Linked DNA regions of Homo sapiens: all the other regions are linked to region 3. The links are contacts of gene promoters, found by promoter capture Hi-C in blood cells and fetal thymus (Javierre and others, 2016). All regions are on one chromosome and are shown on one strand. The core of a region is centred on a gene start or on the middle of the fragment in contact, and the rest is flanking DNA. Distances in the headings are between cores, read along the strand shown.

The links. The method cuts DNA at HindIII sites, captures the fragments that hold promoters and counts their contacts. A CHiCAGO score of 5 or more calls a contact.
Region 1: a contact is called between the fragment with the promoter of KPNA3 here and the fragment with the promoter of VPS36 in region 3, in 2 of 17 cell types (neutrophils and fetal thymus). The highest score is 6.6, in neutrophils.
Region 2: the fragment with the promoter of PHF11 here is called in contact with the fragment with the promoter of VPS36 in region 3 in 1 of 17 cell types (fetal thymus); the score reaches 10.0 in fetal thymus.

The regions. Positions count from the first base shown.
Region 1 is chr13:49,790,492-49,794,447 of GRCh38, forward strand. KPNA3 (karyopherin subunit alpha 3) reads right to left here and starts at 2,191. Exons shown (of 17, transcript NM_002267.4): 1 at 1,947-2,191. The coding sequence starts at 2,015. RefSeq lists enhancers at 706-1,225, 1,230-1,891, 1,892-2,553, 2,357-2,486 and silencers at 1,347-1,916, 2,037-2,286. The HindIII fragment of the contact is 6,989 bases long and covers 1-3,956 here.
Region 2 is chr13:49,494,009-49,498,286 of GRCh38, forward strand. It overlaps PHF11 (PHD finger protein 11), which reads left to right and starts at 1,945. Exons shown (of 10, transcript NM_001040443.3): 1 at 1,945-2,087. The coding sequence starts at 1,994. All of the region lies in intron 12 of SETDB2-PHF11 (SETDB2-PHF11 readthrough), which reads left to right. SETDB2 (SET domain bifurcated histone lysine methyltransferase 2) reads left to right here. Exons shown (of 14, transcript NM_001160308.3): 14 at 1-995. RefSeq lists enhancers at 751-1,436, 1,747-1,986, 2,477-2,526 and a silencer at 2,007-2,286. The HindIII fragment of the contact is 2,314 bases long and covers 476-2,789 here.
Region 3 is chr13:52,449,380-52,453,615 of GRCh38, forward strand. VPS36 (vacuolar protein sorting 36 homolog) reads right to left here and starts at 1,255. Exons shown (of 14, transcript NM_016075.4): 1 at 1,120-1,255. The coding sequence starts at 1,215. RefSeq lists an enhancer at 841-1,421 and silencers at 942-1,401, 1,442-1,501. The HindIII fragment of the contact is 2,912 bases long and covers 636-3,547 here.

The DNA.
Region 1 (3,956 bases), core at 941-3,440, 2.7 Mb before region 3:
GGGATAATGCCACACTTCATATACTTGTTACACAGATTAAATAAGGTATCATGAAGCTCGTAACAGTGTCTGCCACATTAGAACTACCATTTGAATGTCTATTTCATGTTTTAGTTACACTATAGAATCCCGAGAAATGTAATGTTGTGACCAATACCAGGCTGAATGGCTTAGCAACCATGCTCTTTTTCATGCATCTAAAAGTCACGGGTTACATTCTTATCAGCAAATATTTGTTGTGTACCTATTATGTGCAGGAGTCCTTACTAAGTATCACTGAGCTACCAGAACACAATAGAGGTAAACAATGAAACAAAAACCTGTACCAATATCCGAGAGAAGAATGTTACTGGTTTTTCTGTACAAACAATGAGTATTTTTCAATAAATTTTTATTTGGAACAGGATAGGCTTCAAGAAAAATTCCTAATGGGAAAAGTTCAAAATTAACACTTGTCATCAAGTGGACCAATAACAGGAGGCAGTTCCAAAATTTCTTGTTCCTATTCCCAAGTTTTACTTTCGCTTAGATGTATTTCTTACAAAGGGTATTTAACCATGACCAGGAAAGAATATATGATCTTTATTTGACTCATTTAAATGGGAATTCCACGGATATCTCCCTAGGTTCTTTCCTACTAGTATTTAATTTTGTAGCTCTGAAAAACGGCCTGAGTTTGTCTGTTTCTCTACAAAATAGAACACTGAATGGTATATTTACCCCACAACCTTCCTTAAGACAGGATAAAACACACCTCTTAATCACACTAGCTTATCAAAAATTACAAAACTGCAAATCATGTCGCCTAGTATTAGCAAAGAAGGCTGCGGCCTTAAAACCATTTTCCCCCTAACAAATCCAAAGGTCACGGTCCCAGTGAAGTTTGTGCATTATACTTACTGTTTTCAGTAGCTGCAGAGAGACCTCTAGCGCTGCCTCAATAAGCCGAGTTTGCAAATAGTACCTGCTAATGTCACCTTAATGAGACAATGGCAACATGCTGAGTAGCAACTAACTGAGTGACCGCGATGAATGTTTAGTTTTGCAACCACTTGGAAATTCTACTAGCTTGGAGCAAGAGGTATGTAAGAGAATTATGAACCTGTGTATCCAATTTATTTTAGTAAAACGTGTCAAAGAAATTATCACCCTATGCACACCCCACTCCAAGAAAGGCTAAGAAAACAAGTCCTATGAGCGGAGGTCGGAGCAACCTCTTTTCCGAAGCCTGAACACAATAGATGGCAAACTATTGTCCACCTTCAGCTCGCTCCAAATGCCAGCAGTTGCAGGAGTATGAGCTGCAACAGCTCGGCACGACTAGTCCAAAGACGAGCACTGGAATATAAGAAAATGGTCCTGGCGCATCCTACCCTCCCCCATCGATCACCCTCAAACAAGTCAGTTACCCGGCTGGTCCCCACCCCCCTCTGCGGGCCGCCACCGCCCGCCTGGGCCCGGCTCGCAGAAGGTAGGAGCCCGGACCGGCAGAGCCGAGGCTCCATGTGAGCCGCGCGGGAGGCGCAGAGGGGGCTGCACCGGACGGAAGGTTGCACCGGTGGCGGGCGCAAGCAGCGGCCGCCCCCTCGGCTGTGCGGTCGGAGGGCCCGGGCGGCAGCATCCCCGTTCATCCGGGCGGCCCTGGCCCGCGGACCCCGCCTCAGCTCCACATCCCCTCCTCGCCGACACCAGGCCGCGCCCGCGTGACGGGGCCGAAAACGCCGGCATTTCCCGGTCGCCGCGCCGGCAGCTCCGGGGGGTGACTGCAGCCCGGCCGGCGTCTCGCCGCCCGCTCCGCCCAGCCCGGGGCCGCGGTGACGGGAGGCGGCGGCCAACTCCGGCCGACCACAAGCCGACGAGAACCAGCCCGGCGCCGGCCCCCCGCCCCTCCCCGCGTCGCCGGGCCGGCGCGGCCAGGCGGGCCCAGACCGCGGAAGCACACTCACTTCCACATCGCGGCCCTTGTTCTTGAAGCTCTTGATGCGGTGGTTCTCCAAGCTGGGGTTCTCGGCCATGGCTGCGCGCGGCTCCGGCGGCGGCTACTCCTGCGGCTGCGGCGGCGGCGGCGGCGAATCTTGGAGCGGGAGGGGGAGGAGGGGGAGAGCGGGAGGGGGGAGGGGAGAGAAGAGCACGTTCTGTGACGCCTCCGAGCGCGAGGTGGCAGTAGCGCCGGGGGAGGCGCGGGCCGACTGCCGGGCCGGGTGGGGCGGGAACGGTGCTGAGAGCGGCGCGCGGCCGCGGAGGCTGGCGACACGTGACCGGGGGCGGTGACCGGCTTGGGCGTTCGCCGGGCTATACGTGCCCGTTGGTTCTCGGGATGACCCTGCCCTCTTCCCCTGCAAGGGCTCTCCACAACCCCTCGGTGCTGCAAGTTTTGTGCCAGAAATGGAGCCGGACCTGGCGACTTTTACTGCCCCTCAGGCGCGGGGCGGCGGTCGTCAACTACAGTTCCCATCATGCCACGATCCGCCTGGAGTAATTCTCCACGCCTAGTGAGAACGAGGAGAATGCCGGGACCCTTCCGCGCGCGGCTCTTTGCGCGCCGCGCTCATGTTGCTGGGCACAAAGCTCCGCCCCCACAAGGCCGCCTCTGGGCGGGGAAGAGCGGGGGAGCGTCCCTGGCACCTTGCGCCCTATCAGGAGGAAGAGGGCGGGCCTTCCTGGGAGCGCACCTCGCTGCCTGTAGCTAGAAGATCAGAAAAGGAACAACCGCGAGTGCTTTGCAGTCTCGCTTTTTTGGGGGTCTTCTCAAATAGCCACCTTCATTCGCTCTTCCCATGCTCTGCTTCAGTTTTATAAATAGCATTTCTACCTGACATGTACATGTGTATGTATGTGATACGAGTGTTTATATGCGTTACCTAGGTGCCCGCGCGGAAATTCAGCTCAATGAGAGCAGGTACTTTGGTTGAATTACTGCTGAATCTCTAGTGTCAAAACAATGCCTACCACGTCGTAGATACGCAATACTTGTTGAACTGGCGCTTTAGTGTCGCCCAGTTTCTTCATCATCCTTCCAAGCCCGGTTCTGCAACCTTCACTCTGGCAGTCCCTGTATTTACATGCCCCCCAACACTTCTTGTTCTACCACCACACAGAATCTTAGCCTTCAGGCAGCAGCCCAGCCCTGGTCCGCAGACTCTCCTGTGTAGCACTCCCACTCCCTCTGGGGGCATCGAAAGAATGAAAGAGGGAAATTTGGATGGATTACACTGATAAAGAGCTGCTTTCGGCCGGGTGTGGTGGCTCACGCCTGTAATCCCAGCACTTTGGGAGGCCGAGGAGGGCAGATCACAAGGTCAAGAGACCGAGACCAGTCTGGCCAACCATGGCCCGCATGGTGAAACCCCTTCTTTACTAAATATACAAAAATTAGCTGGGCGTGGTGGCGCATGCCTGGAGGCTGAGGCAGGAGAATCGCTTGAACCCGGTAGGCGGAGGTTGCAGCGAGCCGAGATGGCGCCACTGCACTCCAGCCTGGCGACAGAGGGAGACTCTGTCTCAAACAAAACAACAAAAACAACAACAACAAAAACAAAAAGCTACTTTCTGGAGCAGGTGGGCTTCATTTGCTTGTATGTTAATTTTCAGAATCTATGGTAGACATGAGCAGGTATGTAATGTTGTAGTACTTATAATTGAACTGAGGTCAAAAGTTGGTAGGACTATACCATGAAGAGATCAAAAAGGACAATCTTTAAAGCGAAAGGGCCTTGGCTGGGCGCGGTGGCTCATGCCTGTAATCCCAGCACTTTGGGAGGTCGAGGTGGGTGGATCACAAGGTCAGGAGGTCGAGACCAGCCTGGCCAACATGGTGAAACCCCACCTCTACTAAAAAAAATACAAAAATTAGACGGGCATATGGCGCATACCTGTAATCTCAGCTACTTGGGAGCCTGAGGCAGGAGAATTGCTTGAACCTGGGAGGCGGAGGTTGCAGTGAGCTGAGATCGTGT
Region 2 (4,278 bases), core at 695-3,194, 3.0 Mb before region 3:
AATTCCTGTTTTCCAGATGTTAGACCTCCAGAATTTGATCTCTAATTTTCCTATCTTTTCTCTTAACTTTCAGCTCTGTCTTCTTGCTAGGACCTTTTCCTAGGAGCATTTCTCAATTTAATCTTCCAGTTCATCTGTTGCATTTTATTTTTCTAGTCTCATATTGTCTCATATTTTTAATTTCTAAGAGCTCCCCTTCTCCGAATATTCTTTTTTTTTAATAGCATCCTATTTTGGCTCATGGTTGCAGTATTTTATCTCCTTGAAGATGTTTGTGTGTTTATGTATGTATATGCACACACGTATACATACACATACAGGCATGCATCTCTGTATTCTTTCGGCATAATCTGTGTCCTCCAGGGTTTGTTTCTTTGTTTCCCCTGTATGTTTGTTTTGGTCGTTCACATTATAGGCTTTCCTCAGAGTTAATGGTCTTGGTAGTCTACTCATATTTAAGTGTGGAACACCAAAAAGCTTACTATAAGCTGAGAGTGTGGTAAAGGGCTCTTTGTTTTACTATGACCTACCTGAGCTATCTTGCTGGGGAACACCCTAATGTCAGTCTCTTTATAAAGGGCCTTTCATTTTGGCCTGGCAAGAAATACTCTTTCATCCTCCTGCATGGAGGGCAAAAAAAAATTTAAAAATTGGCTGCTAGGGTCTGTCTGCTCACTTCCCTGTTTTGCAGACCCCACACTCTTCTGCAATTCATTTCATAGTTGTCAAGACTATACAAATTGTCCTTTTTAATGTTCTCTCTTCTGCTATCCCTAGTTGGCAGTCTTCCTCTTTACAACCTGCTGAAAGTGGAAGACCTCCAGTTTTCCTTTAATTCCTCAGCAAACCACCAACTATTATATGTCTTTTTTCCAGAACAACTTATTTTTTAACTATAATTATATGCATTTATGTTAGATTCACTGAAAACCTCATCTTGTATGGTGCTCTGTACCCTATGGGTGCTAAATAAAGGCTTGCTACTGGCAACTGGATTTAGGATCGGCTAATTCTGCGTCCTTTTAAGATATGCTTATTTAAGCCAAACTCGGTATGATAATTTTTTTTTTTTTTTTTTTTTTTTTGAGAGGGAGTCTGGCTCTGTCGCCTAGGCAGGAGTGCAGTGGCGCGATCTTGGCTCACTGCAACCCCCGCCTCCCGGGTTCAAGCGATTCTCCTGCCTCAGACTCCCGAGTAGCTGGGATTACAGGCGCCCGCCACCAAGCCCGGCTAATTTTTGTATTTTTAGTAGAGACGGGGTTTCACCATGTTGACCAGGCTGGTCTCGAACTCCTGACCTCGTGATTCGCCCACCTCGGCCTCCCAAAGTCCTGGAACTACAGGCGTGAGCCACCGCGCCCACCCGGCCAGTATGATAGTTTTTAGGAGGAACCCTCAGGAGAGTGATTGTTTCTCCCGCTGTGTTGTGGGGGGTGGAGTAGGGAAGCCTGGCGTTTGGGGTTTTTTTGTTTGTTTGTTTTTTGTGTGTGTTTGTTTGTTTGTTTGTTTTGAGACGGAGTCCCGCTCTGTAGCCCAGGCTGGAGTGTAGTGGCGCGATCTCGGCTCACTGCAAGCCCCGCCTCCCGATTCAAGCGATTCTCATGCCTCAGTGTCTGGAGTAGCTGGGATTACAGGCACCCGCCACCATGCCCAGCTAATTTTTGTATTTTTAGTAGAGACGGGGTTTCACCATGTTGGTTAGGCTGGTGTTGAACTCCTGACCTCGTGATCCGCCCTCCTCGGCCTCCCAAAGTGCTGGGATTACAGGCGTGAGCCACTGCTCCCGGCGTTTGGGTTTTTTAAGCTATTCAAATTAAGACTAGACTGGAATCTGGAGCAGTGTGTGTGACAACCCCTCTCTGCACACCCAACTTTCCCCGGGCCGGCTAGTGACTCAAAGCGACAGCCCAGATTTAAGAAAACGAAACCTAGTGCAGCTGGGGCACTTCCGGGATCTCGCTATCCGGCCGCCACCCGCAGCTGCAGCACAGTCATGGCCCAGGCGTCGCCGCCCCGGCCCGAGAGGGTGCTCGGCGCCAGCAGCCCGGAGGCCCGGCCCGCGCAGGAGGCGCTCCTCCTTCCCACCGGTGTGTACCGCGGGGGCGGGCGGGCGGGCGGGCGGGGCTGGGCAGCGACGGGCCCGGTCAAGGGGCCTGCCTTCCGGTCGTGGCCGCATGGGGGCCCGACCTGCCCCTACTCCGGGCCGGGGCCCTAGACGCCGGGGCGGCGCTGGACGAACTTGGCTCACCACTCGCGTGCCTGTTGGTGGGGGAGGGGGCCAGAGGACAGGGCGCGGCCCAGGCCAGTTCCACAGGTGGCTCTGACTGCCCATGGTTTCGCGCGAGTGGTGGGCACGCTTCGGTTTACCTCCCCCGCGGGTGACAGCCCAGTGCTTCCACCACAACCGATGTCAACTCTCCTAGCGCCCCTCCGCTCACCGGTAAACCAGGACAGTGGAGGGGCGCCCTGATGCGGTGAGGCAGGGGGCGGCCCTGAGGGAAGAGCTGGGTCTCACGTTCACGGAGGACGTGACTGGAACCCGTCTCCCCTTCTCCAGTCGTTCCAGTCCTCCCCGGCCCTCTACTTGAGTGGGTGGGTCTTCTGATGGGTTCCTGCCCTTGCGTGTGTGTATAGCTCCAAACGGTGTGCCAGGCTCAGGGCAAGGTCCTGAGCATACAAAGATGAGTTAGGCAGACCCTGCCCTAGAGACTCTACTAGGCAACTTTAATGAGGAGGTCAGAACCACAGAGGTACAGATGAGAGACTCCTGACTCCCAGTCTTCAGGGAAAGCTTTTTGAGGAGAGGATGGCTGGGCTTACCCTTTTTTTTTTTTTTTTTTTTTGAGAGGAGTTTCACTCTTGTTGCCCAGGCTGGAGTGCAAAGGCGCTATCTCGGCCCACTGCAACCTCTGCCTCCCGGGTTCAAGCGATTCTCCTGCCTCAGCCTCCCGAGTGGATGGGATTACAGGCATGTGCCACCACGCCCAGCTAATTTTGTATTTTTAGTAGAGAGGGTTTCTCCATGTTTCATGGGCTTACCTTTAAAGGGCAAGACTCAGCCAAAGGTGGAAAAGTTGAAGGGGTGTTCCCAGCAGAGAGGATGACACAAAGGCACCAAACCACAAAACGTCACACGTAAACATCATACGTGGCAACCACAAGCCAATCAGTTGGATATTTCATTCATTGGTATACATATGGACTGTAAGGTAAGTCACGGGAGATGCGCTTCCATCCTGACCTCTTCCTCAAACTCCAGACTGGTATAACCAACTTCTTCCATTTCTGAAATGATCTCAAACTGAGTATGTCCCAAAGAGAATTCTTGTTTCCTCCACTGTATTCAGGTACTCCAAACCTGCTCAACCACCAGCCCATTCCATTCGCCCAGGTGCTCCTTGCAAAAACCTTAGTGGCTCCTCAGGGCCTCTCTTTCCTCCGGACACCCCTTCTAATGCATCAGTCGGGCCAGCCAGTTCTGTGTTCAGCCTGACTGTATCTGGAGCCTGACTGCTTCTCACCACTTCCATTACTGCCACCCAAGCCTACGCCATCATGATCTTCTGTCTGGACTATTGCTTTCCTGGCTTCTATTCTAGCCTTTAATACAGGCAGGCCTGCAGAGCGGCCAAAATGCTTTTTGAAAAACAAAAAGCAAATGTGATTCTCCTACTCAAAACCCACCAATAGTCTCCCATGACTCTCAGAACAATCTATGAGCCTGGCCTGCAGTTTACCCCATGTCCTTATCTGATTTGACTCCTGCCCATCTTAATGACTCTGCTACCCTGCTACCTTGTAGGTCCTCTAAGCCACCAAAGCTGTCCCTGCCTCAGGATCTTTCCATTTGCTATTCTCTGCAAGGAAAACTCATTGCCACATTATCCCATTTTCAGTTCCCCATCATATTCAGGTGTCTGCTCATATACATCTTCCCTCAACCTTGCCTGCCCATCCTGTCTAAAAGAGCACCCCTTGCCCCTGCTCCTGTCACTCTCTACCTCCTTCTGCTCTATTCTTTCTCTATAGTACTTATCACTACCTGGAAAACAAAACAAAACTTGTTTAATGCCTGTCTCTACCACTGGCCACTGGCATGTAAATTCGTCTTACTCTCTTCTATCCTTAGTGCCTAGACTGGTTGGCCTAGTAGTAGTAGTAGGACATAGTAGGTACTCATTAAATATTAAATAATAGTAAGTCCTCATTAAATATTTGTTGAAGGAATGAATGTACTTGTATATAACACTACGGAGCTTGACTTCTGTAGGTGATGGG
Region 3 (4,236 bases), core at 5-2,504:
AGTAAGTGAAGTTAGGTCCAAGCAAATTATTTAAGGAAAAGACCTTTACTCACTAATACAGGCAACACAGCCCATAGAAAATGCCCTAAGAGAGTCAGAGGACCTGGGTCCAATGTCACCTGTGCCTCTAAATAGCTGTAAGCACTTACCAGGAAAAGCTGAGTTGAGGAACTTATATCAAAGTACAGCGGAAAGTGTCGTTAATAAAACGGCAAGGGAAGAGAGGTAGCAAATTAAAACTTCTGGAAACCAAAAATGCTTGTGGGTAAATGAGTTTTAAAATTTTTCTAATTCCAGTTTATCCATTTCAATCCAGGACAAGATATTTCATAGTTTCAGTAAAGTATCTACAAAATATTTACTTACACTTCCTATTTCTCCTCTCGATTTGCAAACGCACCTTCTAAGATTTATGCTTGCACTACAAGGCACGGTCTACTATTAATATAACACTTTACAAAACACGCTCAGAACGCCTTTCTAAAGCAATTAGAAAACAAAACAAAAACCCAATAGCCTTTGGCAAGGGCATTCCAATGAAGCACTGATACCTCTTTAGGAAATCCTTTCGAAGCAATCCCTCACCCCTCTGCCCAGATATGCTAATCCCTCCGACTGCATAAGGTCCAAGCTAAAGCTTCCGCTGGGGCACGGACTGTACGGCCACCGCGCCCTCCTCACAGAAAGGCGAAACGGGGCTGTCCGGTGCCGACGCCGAGGTTGGTGTCGTCAGGGGGTCTGGAACCACGCCAAGGAAGTCGACTGCCGGATCGCCGCCCGGCGCCCGCAGACGGCGAGCGCTCCTTCTCCCGGGCACTGCAGCTGTGCGCTCCCGGAAGCATTCCGGGCGGAGGGAAGCGGCCGCGATCCGCGCCTGCTGGGAACCGTGCCAAAGTTGGGACCCGCGCTGGGGAGGCAGCCGAGCGCCCCACGCCACGTGCTACCGACCGGCGGGGAGCGCAAGAGCGCTGCACCCCGCACAGAGGCCTGCCGGGCCGCCGAGGGCCGTGAGCTAAGCCGGGGACCGGGCCGCGCCGACCCGGGCCGCGCTGAGCCGGGCCGCGCGCCCACCGGGGGTCCCTTCCGCCAGCCCGTTGGGAAGGTTGGCAGACGCCCTACCTTCTCCTCGCCATCGTAGATTCGCACCCCGCGCTGCTGGATCACCAGGGTCTCGTTGATCTCCAGGAGGCCGCTGGTCCAAACGAAGCGGTCCATGGCCGCTGCCACCCAGCCCCGGCCCTCCGAGGCCGCGAGCAGCGCGCCAGGCAGCCTGCGGCGCCCCCTAGCGTCGGACGGGACGGAAGCGAGTCGGGGCGGGTGAGGGACGGAGGGAGCGGCCTGGCAGCGAGCGGGCGCGGCTGCGAGGTGCGCCCGGGGACGTGGAGACGTGCGTGGAGCGCCCCCTGGCGGTCCATTAGCCGCCGGCCTTTCAGAACCCTTGATCAGCAGGCGGTCCACCCCATTCTAAATTCAGAGCTTACAGGGACGCGAGGGAGCCCCGACCACAGCTTGGACTTGCTTATTGTGCATTATGCCTGCATGTTTGTGGCAGTTTTCTTGTCAGTGCCCAGAATGTTGCTACATTCGCTAATGATTGTAAATAATCATAACCCCTCTCTTTCAAATGAATATTTATGGCACGCATTGTTTCTGTACAGCTGCAGTCAGTACTACCTGTGCTGCTCTTTTTTTCCCTTTAAGATTATATTGTAACACAAAGGATAAATGCTTGAGGTAACGGATACCTCATTTACCCTGATGTGATTATTATACAGTGTATGCCTGTATCAAAATATCCCATATACCCCAGAAATATATACACCTATGTACCCACACAAATTAATTTTTTTTTAACTGGGGGAAACAGATTTTATTTAACCGGGCTTGATGCGCGCGCCTGTATTCCCAGCTGCTTCCGAAGCTGAGGCGGGAGGATTGCTTGAACCCAGGAGTTTGACACCAGTGGGCGACATAGAAAGACCCTTTCCCCCTCCACCCCAACTCCCCCACGCCACTCCACTCCCCCACCCCCAGGCTCAGAAAAAAAAGATTATTTTTATTTAGGCATTTTCAATATTAATACAGACCTCATGCGTGAATTTACATTTCAATATGTAGTTCCTCTATAATTTAGCTGTTTGTTGGTCTGCGCAAAGCCATCCATGGCCGCTGCTCTCACCCACCAGGCGGCCTCGTGCCCCTAGCCATTTCATTTTTGTATTTTGCTTTATAAATGGAACACCTGGCCGGGCGCGGTGGCTCACGTTTGTAATCCCAGCACTTTGGGAGGACAAGGCGGGCGGATCACAAGTCAGGAGTTCGAGACCAGCCTGGCTAACATAGAGAAACCCTGTCTCTACTAAAAATACAAAAAATTAGCCCGGCGTGGTGGCGGGTGCCTGTAATCCCAGCTACTCGGGAAGCTGAGGCAAGAGAATCGCTTGAACCCTGGAGGTAGAGGTTGCAGTGAGCCGAGATCGCACCATTGCACTCCAGTCTGAGCGACAGAACGAGACTCTGCTTCAAAAATAATAATAATAAATAATAAATAAATAAATAAATGGAGCAGCTTATAGATGTCCTTCTACAATTGATACATATTTTTCTCTTTAGGATTATTTTCTTACAGTGTCTTCCTAAAATAGAATGACTGCTTTAAAGGTTGTGAACACATTTTAGAGAGCCTACCACTTATTGGGGTCTTAACTAAGGCTGCGTGCCCACGTGGGCAGAGGGGCACAGGGGCAGAGGGACAGAGGGCAGGCTTGCTCTCTGCCCCCAGGGCTCCACATTTCCCCCAGTCGTGGAGTCAGTGGTCTGTGGCTAGGCATTAAAAGAAAGGAAAGGCTCTTTCCAATGAGTATAAGCCATCTCTCCCCCGAAATGAATTGCTACTTTTACCGTGTTCCAAAATCCTGTGTGTATTTTGGTCTATTTCTAAACAGTGTCTTCTGTATTTCATATCTTTCAATTTCCATCATGACCATATACCCAATAACCAAAAGTTCTTTGAAAACATTTGATTTGCTGTAATATGCTATCAATATATATCACAATTTACCATCATTGCCTGATTTTTGAGCATTTGATTGTTTACCAACTTTTTAGTCTTTTTTAATTGAAAGTAATGTGACCTAAGCATCCTAATCAGATGTGGAACTGTGCAGTTATGCCTGGGCTTTGCAATTATCAACATGTTAGGCAGTGAGGACATTTGCAAGGTATGTTTTCTGCCCTTGAGGGATGTACAGTCTGTAGGACACAAATAGAAGCCTGGCATATGATAGCTGCTGGGATAGACAACCGTATAAGGGTTTCCTGTATCCAGGCTGGAGCAAGGAGAAACGTCATGTGGCTTATATATGGCAATAAATGAATAGACAAAAGGTTTTAATTTTTATGAAGTTCAGTGTATTTTTTTCTTTCATAGTTCATGGAATTTGCCTATTTAAGAAATCTTTTTTCCACAAACCAGATATTGATACTGATTATGAAATCTTTGCCTAACACAAAGTCACTAAGATTTTCTCCTATAATTTCTTCTAGAAGCTTCATAGTTTTGGTTCTTACATTTAGGTCTATGCTTTTTTTTTTTGAGACAGAGTCTCACTCTGCCGCCCAGGCTGGAGTGCAATGGCACAATCTCGGCTCACTGCAACCACTGACTCCTGGGTTCAAGCGATTCTCCTGCCTCAGCCTCCCGAGTAGCTGGGATTACAGGTGCCTGCCACCACGCCTGGCTAACTTTTGTATATTTTGTAGAGACAGGGTTTCACCATGTTGGCAAAGCTGGTCTTGAACTCCTGACCTCAGGTGATCCACCCGCCTTGGCCTCCCAAAGTGCTGGGATTACGGGCATGAGCCACCACGCCCAGCCATCCCCAGGATGTTTTTGCCAGGACCTCCCACCTTCTGAATCAGATGGTTCCTTTCAGTCCCAATCCTACTGGACCTCTGTAGTGCCCAACACTGTGGTCCATTACCTCTTTCTTCAGCTTCTCTCTTCCCCAGACTTTGTGACCCCATTGTGTCCCCATTGTCCTCCTAACTTTCAGATTGTCCTTCCCTGTTCTCTCACAGGCACTTTACCTTCTTCACATGACCACAGGAGGAACGACTAACACTAATTAATCATCAGTACTCCAGGTGCCTGCAGTTTCATGGTCAGCTGTGTTGGCAAAGAACTGTTCTGAAAGGAAATCTTTTTTGTTTTGTTTTTTTTGTTTGTTTTTTGGA